Linked DNA regions of Homo sapiens: region 2 is linked to region 1. The links are contacts of gene promoters, found by promoter capture Hi-C in blood cells and fetal thymus (Javierre and others, 2016). All regions are on one chromosome and are shown on one strand. Each heading gives the region's core, a stretch centred on a gene start or on the middle of the fragment in contact. The rest is flanking DNA. Distances are from core to core; before and after follow the strand shown. Region 1 holds the start of COCH-AS1 (COCH antisense RNA 1). Region 2 overlaps HEATR5A (HEAT repeat containing 5A).

Region 1 (4,766 bases), core at 1,478-3,977:
TAGACTTTACCTATCCCATCAAAATTTCCTTGGCCAGGTGCAGTGGCTCACATCTGTAATTCAGCACTTTGGGAGGCTGAGGTGGGCGGGATCACCTGAGGTCAGGAGTTCAAGACCAGCCGGGCCAACATGGTAAAACCCAGTCTCTATTAAAAATACAAAAATTAGCTGGGTGTGGTAACATACACCTGTAATCCCAGCTACTCAGGAGGCTGAGGCACGAGAATCACTTGAACCCAGGAGGCAGAGGTTGCAATGAACTGAGATCGTGCCATTGTACTCCAGCCTGGGCGACAGAGTGAGACTCTGTCTCAAAAAGAAAAAAAAAAAAAAAAAAAAACTTTTTCCCCCCCGCTTAAGATAATAAAAACACACTCTGGTGTTATAAAAGGGTATAAGAAGGGTTTCTTTCTTCCTCACCCCAGCCTTAATATTACTTTTGGCACAGGCCTCGTTCCTGAAGACATTAACGTAATGTGTTAGAGATCAAATAGGCCAACAAAAAGCTAAGATTCCCTTTCTGAGGATATAACTGAGTGACAGGAGGGAAGAATCAATGGACTTGTTTTTTTTAACACTCTTCTGTACCTCATTTTCCCTACTTAATTCCTAATGACATAACCTTTTTCCTTTCTACACATTAGTACCTCTGCCAATGTACTCACATATTTTTACAGATACTGATGAAAGATTATTCTTAAAACAGAGAACACATGCAATTTAAGTTCCACATCTAGCTTGTAAAAAGTATTTTTTATACATCAGCAACTAGCCTGTGAAGTAAAGACCTGTTTACTATCATATTCCTTAATACTTAGCTTACTGAACTTATAGTTAACAGGATTGTATTCAGGCTATAAAGTGATTAGGTTGATTAAAGTTCAGGAGGCTGGACTACACCAATATTGATTCGTGAAAATTATCCCTTAGTGATATTGAAAGTTGCAAAAGCCAGAAAATAGGGTAGGATTTTAGGGGTAGATCACAACAGTTTTTATTTATTTTCAGGGTCTTGCTCTGTCACCCAGGCTGGAGTACAGTGGTGTGATTATTTTTTTTTTTAACTGTAATTATATGCTGGGCTTGAGCTAAACAATCTGAACTAGAATGTAGAACTGAAAAGAAGTGAGGAAAACTGAGGGGGAGGAAAAAAATATTTTGACTTTTTTTTTTTTTAACCAGGGAGTGAGAGTCAGGAAAAGGAGACTGGAACAATTGGACATTGTTCCAAGTAGCTTTTACATCATCTAAACCTGCTGCATATCTTAGGTATTTACCACTCTGAGCACTGTATACCACTAGAAGGGGAATGAAACCTTAGATCTGTAGAGGAAAACTATTACAGAAACTCCAAAAGTTATAGAAAATTGCACCCAGCATTAGATAGATGGTACTCTACACTAAGAATCTGCTAAATGAGGCCAGGTGTGGTGGCTTATGCCTGTAATCCCAGCACTTTGGGAGGCCGAGGCAGATGGATCGCTTGAGCCCTGGAGTTCGAGATGAGACCAGCCTGAACAACATGGTGAAACCCCATCTCTACAAAGAAATTTAAAAATTAGCTGGGCTTAGTGGCATGCGCTTGTAGTCCCAGCTATTTGAGGATGGGGGTGCTGAGGAGGATAGTTTGAGCCCAGGAAGTTGAGGCTGCAGTGAGCCTTGATTGTACCACTGCACTCCAGCATGGGCAAAAGAGCCAGACCCTGTCTGAGAAAAAAAAAAAAAAAAGATTAAATGAAAACTTCTACAATTGGGATTGGGGTGAATCCAACTAATGTATTATTACCCTAAATGTACAGTTGTACTAAAAGCCTTCTAGTAACTAAAGTGAATGGAAATAGAATACCTCAATGAAACTGGAAGAAATTACTCCAGTTTCATAAGATCCCTCTTGGGCAGTACTTTTTAGTCACTAGTTTTGCTTTGGGATTATAGGCTGACATTTTCTGATTATTAGACAGTTTGCCAATATAAAGATTGAAATGGAAGAGGATTTTTCATTATCAGAGGACTAGTCACCATTCCTCAAACAATGCAACCTTTGAACACTTTTGCTATTTACTTATCCCATCTCTTGTGCCATTCTTCCTTGCTTTAATGGATTGTGACTCTGACTCCAGTATACTGTTTGATGCAGGCCAACCTCATACGGAAAATTTTCACCATCCGCATTTACTGTAGGATTTTAAAAAAGATACTGTGGATCAGGTTAAAAGTCTTCTTCTATTCCTAGTTTATAGGTGTGTTCTGTCATTAATGGATATTGAACTTTATCAAATTATTTCTTATCAGTGATGACTTACCTGTTAATGTGGCGAATTACAGATATAGCAGAGTTTCTGGTTTGGACCACTCTTTTGCCACTCTCGTCACAATGACTGTGAAAACTTAATTTGTTCAGGGGATTTAATTGTCCAGAAATTAGTAAGCAGTTTTCGCTGCAACTATGTAACAGTGTATGGAAAACATATAGACATAATTCCATATATTAGCTAGACCTGATTTTCAATTCACTTTAAAATGTTTTCATTGTAGGAATCACTATCTTCTCTGTTGGTGTGGCTTGGGCACCTCTGGATGACCTGAAAGATATGGCTTCTAAACCGAAGGAGTCTCATGCTTTCTTCACAAGAGAGTTCACAGGATTAGAACCAATTGTTTCTGATGTCATCAGAGGCATTTGTAGAGATTTCTTAGAATCCCAGCAATAATGGTAACATTTTGACAACTGAAAGAAAAAGTACAAGGGGATCCAGTGTGTAAATTGTATTCTCATAATACTGAAATGCTTTAGCATACTAGAATCAGATACAAAACTATTAAGTATGTCAACAGCCATTTAGGCAAATAAGCACTCCTTTAAAGCCGCTGCCTTCTGGTTACAATTTACAGTGTACTTTGTTAAAAACACTGCTGAGGCTTCATAATCATGGCTCTTAGAAACTCAGGAAAGAGGAGATAATGTGGATTAAAACCTTAAGAGTTCTAACCATGCCTACTAAATGTACAGATATGCAAATTCCATAGCTCAATAAAAGAATCTGATACTTAGACCAAAAGCAACATTCGTTCTCTAACCATTCTGTATTGATTATATAAGCAAAATGAAAAGAGAAACTTAAATGAACACAGCTCTTTAACATGGTTCAGGTACACATATTTTGACCCAAGTGGATATTTTCTTAAAACCAATCAATAATAGCTAGCTATTACTGCAGACTATAAAATCTGGATATAGAAAGGAGACCTGTATCAAACTGCTTTTGTAGTGTGTTTTCATAACAACTTATGACTAAAAATATCACACTGAATAAGAGAGCAGGATTGCCAGGTATTTTTCTATTTCTCTCCTTAATTTTATATGTATATAGATATATTTGGCTTATATTCTAAGTCACCTAAGTACTTAAAAGTTAAGTTGGTAAAGTATTTACTGACTGCTTATAAACATTTAAAGACAAAGACATTTCAAATAACTGCAGAAAAAATATTGTAGTTTGAATATTTAAGCAATAAAACTGCTAGTGAGTTATTGTAAGCTGGCTTACTTTTATTACTGCTAGTGTCTCCCCTGAGGATATGGTAAAAATTCATGTGGAAAGACCAATCTGAATTGTTTTTTAAATCATGTAATAATACCAAGAATATTTTTTCTTTGATTCAATTATTTATTGAGGCCAAGCACAGTGGCTCATGCCTGTAATCCCAGCACTTTGGGAGGCTGAAGCAGGAGGACTGCTTGAGGCCAAGAATTCAAGACCAGCCTGGGCAACATAGTGAGAACCCCCTCTACAAAAAAGAAAAAAAAATTAGCCGGGTGGGATGGTGCATGTCTGTAGTCTGAGCTACTTGGGAGGCTGAGGTGGGAGGACTGCTTGAGCCGAGGAGGTCAAGGCTACAGTGAGCCATGATCACACCACTGCACTCCAGCTTGGGTGACAGAGCAAGACCCTATCTCCAAAATAAAAAAAAAAATAAAAAGACACAAGTTTATCGAATACCTACTGTCCTAGGCATTATACACAGCCACTACCTGATTAAACAGTATAAGATATTTTTGAGTACTTGCTTCACCAGAAATGTTTTGTAATTGACATCATTTTTTACTTAAAAATGCTTGTGAAGTTGGTTCCTATGAAAGGAGAACATCAGGACTCCCTTAATGTGACTTAGATGATTCGCTTACCAAGGCCTCTCCCAAAAGACAGAGGTGCTCTATCATCCCACCTTGTCTGTCTTTTCTAAAGATAGGTCCTATCTCCTCCTCTCATCCACCTAAGCCCCCTGAAATGTGTTAACTGGTTAGAATAATATACTCCAGTAAATCTTCTGAGTCTTACAATTTTATACCCTGCATAAGAGGAATAAAAGGACTACATGCAGGGAGAAACAAACTGGAATTGACTTTTTCACTACATAAAAATTTGAATTTGAAAATAGAGTTTGAGAAGACAACCTCCCCTTTTATAAAATGCTTCAAACATGACTGAATCATGTAACAGGGATAATTTTAATTAAACATCATAAAAACTGGGTTTAGCATAGTATGATTTTTCCCCAGTAAGTAGACCAAAAACTCTCAGCTAGGAGTACAACCCCTTGGAAAATTAAGCTCTAATGAAAACCCAGCTACCACTCATTAGCCCTTTTAAGAAAGTGGTTTTTTCTTTAATTTTATAAAGGACCAAGTTTTGAGTCACCTGAAGTAACCAGGGAATAGCAGCAAGACAGCAGAAATCAGAACTGTAGGTTACTATCAATAATTA
Region 2 (4,766 bases), core at 649-3,148, 470 kb after region 1:
TAAGGCTAACCACAATAACAACAAAATGGCTTGAAATATTCGGTTGCTGTTTAAATTTAGATACTTTAATTAAGACCTTTCTTCTCTAGAACTCAAATGTAAGGCCAAAAAGCAAACAGCCTGATATTTTACATAAATATCATATCTGGCATAACAGGAAATTAGAAACTTAACTTCCCTATTCATGTAGTTTCTATCTTCTGGTTCTGTAACGACACCTACTGGAGACTGTGGATAACTGCTTATAACCCACTTTCTGTATCTGGGATCTTGCCAGGCCACTTCTTTATAAATATATTTTTGAGACAGTGTCTTGCTCTGTTGCTAAGGCTGGAGTGCAGTGGCGAGATCTTGGCTCACTGCAACCTCTAACTCCCAGTATCAAGCGAACCTCCCACCTCAGCCTCCTCAGTAGCTGGGACTACAGTTGCACACCACCATGCACAGCTAATTTTTTTATTTTTGTAGAGAAGGAGTTTTGCATGTTGCCTAGGCTGCTCTTGAACTGTTGGGCTCAAGCAATTTGCCTGCCTTGGCCTCCCAAAGTGCTTGGTTACAGGTGTAAACTACTGTGCCTGGTCACCTACTATTTTTTTTCCAAAATAGTTAGAATCCTGTTTGTTCCAAATTTGTTAGAATCCAAACAGAATGATAGGGTTTGCTTTTATCTGTTCTCAATGTTTTTATCAAAACAAACAAAATCTCCCCTTCCTTGAATATTCATTATTATTATTATAACTTAGGTGGGGATACAAAAACTATGAGCACATTAAAAAATTCATTAAACTTAGTAAGAAAGGATCTTCCTGAAACTGCAATTGGGCAATAAATCCGAAAAGAAAACTTCTCTAGAATAGTAAAATCACTTTTTTAAGAGGAAAGGCTGTAAAAAGTATATTTTCTTTTTTGCTTTTCCACCTTAGACCCATCAAAGATAGTGGAACCATTTAAGAACAGGCTTAATTTAAATCCTTTGCTTAAAAGGCCAGCCCTGTTTCATCCACAGTAGTTATTGGTATATTAATCCAAATTAATTATTCTAAAGTAATTATATGCTCTATAAAAAGGCAGTTACAGACTAGTTCAAATTTCATCCTCTCCATGAATCTTTCTTTGAATATTCCAAACCACTGTAATTTTCCTCTTCATTCATTAACAATTCAGTCATATATTCTCTTATCACCATAACCTTATAGTTACAGTATTACAGGAAATGCTACAAATACATTTGGAAAAAACACTATCTTTTGAAACTGAAGCTAGTAAAAATCAATATAAATTTCATTCACTTTTCTATGCAATGAAAGCACATCATCCCAAGACCTGTTTCAGAGAGGTGTTGGTGATGAAATTAAAATATTTTTCTAAGTCTTCACCAAAGAGATAAAGGTAAATTGTCTAACTGGTATCCTCTGGAAGATATAACTGGATAAGAAGATATAATAAAAGCTATGATCTAGTCAAATGCATGGTTGTTGGTCGAGAGAGAGGAAATGAATGAATGAATCAGTGCGGATGACAGTGATTTGTAAACTATTATTAGCCACAATAGCCTATGAGAGAGATTCACTTCCCATTTCGTTTTTCAGATAGTAACAAGAATTTCCTGGATAGTGGATTTTGATGCCTGAGAAATGTATATGTCCAGTTACTAATTAAGAAACTATCATTCTCAATGAGAAATCATTATCACCCTTTGGTTTTTCAAAACCAAAGTCCATTTTTTGGGGAGGACATCTTGTATTTATTAATTTTTCACATACAATAGCATAAGATGGAAATCCCTACATAGTATGAGGTATACAACATGATGTTTTTAACGAGGCTTTGCTCATATATACATTGTGAAATAGATTACCACAATCAAGTTAATTAAATATCTATTATCTTTGTGTGTGTATGTGTGTGTGTTCTAAAGCAGGGGGGCCCCAACCAGTGGGCCACGGACTGGTACTGGTCCACGGCCTGTTAGGAATTGGGCCGCACAGCAGGAGGTGAGTGGCGGGCAAGCGAGCATTATCATCTGAGCCAAACTCTTGTCAGATCAGCAGTGGCATTAGATTCTCACAGGAGTGTGAACCCTATTGTCAACTGTGCATGTGAGGGATCTAGGTTGTGCACCCCTCACAATGCCTGATGATCTGAGGTGGAATAGTTTTATCCCAAAACCTCCTCCTATCCCTACGCCATGGACGAACTGTCTTTCGCCATACTGGTCCCTGGTGCCTAAAAGGTTGGGGACCACTGGTCTAAAGTTCATTTTAAGTGAACTGATAAAAACCATTTAAAATCCCTCCAACTGAAGACAAATCCCTGGACCTTTAATGGTTCCAAAAAATTTCCAAGGTAAGAAAGCCTATGAGACCTAGTCTAAGAAAAAACCTAGTATGTGTCTTTGTAATGACTGCTCATAAATCAGTATCTTATGTCATTATTTTTCATTTGTATTTTCAGCTAGATGATAAGCTGTGAGCAAAGTATTGTATCCACAACAGTTCTAGTGGTTTTAGGCATTTAATCATTTCTTATTAAGTATTAGCCAAGTGAATAATTAAACAAAAACTTATATTTCACCTTCACCTGTTATTTATAAGAAATCATTTACGCTAATGAGATCTCTGGCAACATTCTTCTTACCCACCAGTTCTCTATTATCCATTCACTGAACCATTGAAGATATTTACCTTTGAGTTTCTCCCACATGAGCGCATACAACCCCAAAGAGCTTGGATGCAGAACTAATAACTGATAGTGCTGGAGGTAAGGGCTTAGGCACTGAATCTCCCTCTACATCTTTCTCATAAATCGAATAAGGGTCATATTCAAGACTTCCGCAAGCAACACCATTACCAAGCAGGAGCTAAAAGGGAAAAAAAGTATATAAGGTTTTAAAATCACTGATCACAGATTGAATCTAATCAAGAGTAAAAAATGGCCATACCTGTTCTTCAATAAATCTATGGTCAGTCTCTTGTAGGAAAGGACTTAGTATCAAAAGATCATCCTGATGACAGAGGGGTGGAAGTAAAAATGTAGATGCTGCCACCTGAATATCAGGGGCAGTCAAGTCAGCAGCCAGCTCTCTGAGGATAGCACAGAGGTTTCCTGTTGAGTCACAGAAAAAGAGCAATTAGTACTATTAATTATCTGGTGAGAGTATGGGATTTAAAACTCAGGTTGAGCTTTAATGCACCCACTGGCCAACTTTAACATATCACAGCCAAAAGACTGTATTTCTCATCCTTGAAAACTGCCCTAGAAATGACTGGCTCAACTACGTGTTGCTAGTAACAAGGTTAAGAATGGATACTAAAAGAACATCTCAAAGTGTAAGAGTGTGTGTGTGTGTGTGTGTGTGTGTGTGTGTGTGTGTACATACCTTAAGGTATAACATGACATAAAATATAAAAATAGATGTAAAAAAAGATTTACAAAAGCAGATATGTTTTTTAAAAAAGCACAGTCTGAAAAAATGTATAAGAATTAGCCTGAGGCCGGGTGTGGTGGCTCACACCTGTAATCCCAGCACTTTGGGAGGCGAAGGTGGGTGGATCACTTGAGGTCAGGAGTTCAAGACCAGCTTGGCCAACATGGTGAAACCCCATCTTTAGTAAAAACACAAAAATTAGCCGGGCGTGGTGGCAGGTGCCTGTAACCCCAGCTACTCAGAGACTGAGGCAGGAAAATCGCTTGAATCTGGGAGGCAGAGGTTGCAATGAGCCAAGATCAGCCACTGCACTCCAGCCTGGGCAACAGAATGAGTCTCCATCTCAAGACAAAAAAAAAAAAAAAAAAAAAAAAGAATTATCCTGAGAAAACTTAGACATGTTATTATGGAAAATTTCAAACATAAATAAATAATAGTACTATGATGATGCCTGCCCCTATCCCTTCCAGCATATGCTCATTATTCATCTTTACCAGCTGCAACAGTATTATTTCACCTACATCCCCATTCCTGATCCCACATTTCTCCACATTATTTTTAAGAAAACCCTAGGCAGCACATCATTTCATCCATAAATATTTCACCGTGTATCATTAAAGTGAAATACATTTTATTTTGAACATAATCCTGCTATCATAATCTCATGTTGTAAAAAAAAAAAAAGCCACTGAACATCAGGTACCCATTCAGTATTCAAATTTCCAACTATCTCATAAACACCTGTTTTTGTTTGCTTCCGTGTTTGAATCTAGATCTAAGTAAGGTGTACACATTGCAGCTAGTTTATCTTGTCTCTTTCAATTTAGTATTCTCCCTATACCTTTCCCCTCACTGGTAATTTATTTGAAGAAACAAGGTTATTTGTTTTGTACAATTTTCTACAGTCTGGGTTTTTATGATTATAGGCCCCTGGTATAGCTTAATTTGTTCTTCTATCTGTACTTTTTAAAAAAAATAAATTGGTAGTTGTATCTAGACGGGGCTCATTTTTGCTTTTGGTGATGGGCAGGGTGGGGTGCAGGTTAGTTCATAAGTGGTATTGTGTTCTCCAATAACACAGGAGACAACATATGGTTGCCTCTCTAACATATACACTTTGAAAAGCTGATCCATTTATCACATTAACTGCAATGATCACCTCAAAGATGTTTTATCCTAATTTCTGTTAGGTTATCAAAAAATCTTATCCACAGAGAGCTTAAATGGCTTTTGCCAGTTTGTAACTTAAATACTGCAGGAATGAGTAAAAATTCCCTTAGAAAAATGTTTATACTCTTCGAAGTGTTTCTTTGAGCAATTGCACCAGGATGAAATGAGG

The links. Contacts are between HindIII fragments. The CHiCAGO score rates a contact against its expected background, and 5 or more counts as called.
Region 2: a fragment that was not itself captured here is called in contact with the fragment with the promoter of COCH-AS1 in region 1 in 1 of 17 cell types (erythroblasts); the score reaches 5.3 in erythroblasts.

What each region holds. Positions count from the first base shown.
Region 1 is chr14:30,887,081-30,891,846 of GRCh38, forward strand. It overlaps COCH-AS1 (COCH antisense RNA 1), which reads right to left and starts at 2,728. Exons shown (of 5, transcript NR_038356.1): 1 at 2,304-2,728; 2 at 2,063-2,175. It overlaps COCH (cochlin), which reads left to right. Exons shown (of 12, transcript NM_004086.3): 12 at 2,536-3,538. The coding sequence ends at 2,711. The HindIII fragment of the contact is 10,353 bases long and covers 1-4,766 here.
Region 2 is chr14:31,355,953-31,360,718 of GRCh38, forward strand. HEATR5A (HEAT repeat containing 5A) reads right to left here. Exons shown (of 36, transcript NM_015473.4): 15 at 2,942-3,105; 16 at 2,685-2,860. Among named protein-coding and RNA genes, the nearest start is that of HEATR5A, 62 kb to the right of the region's middle. The HindIII fragment of the contact is 5,963 bases long and covers 1-4,766 here.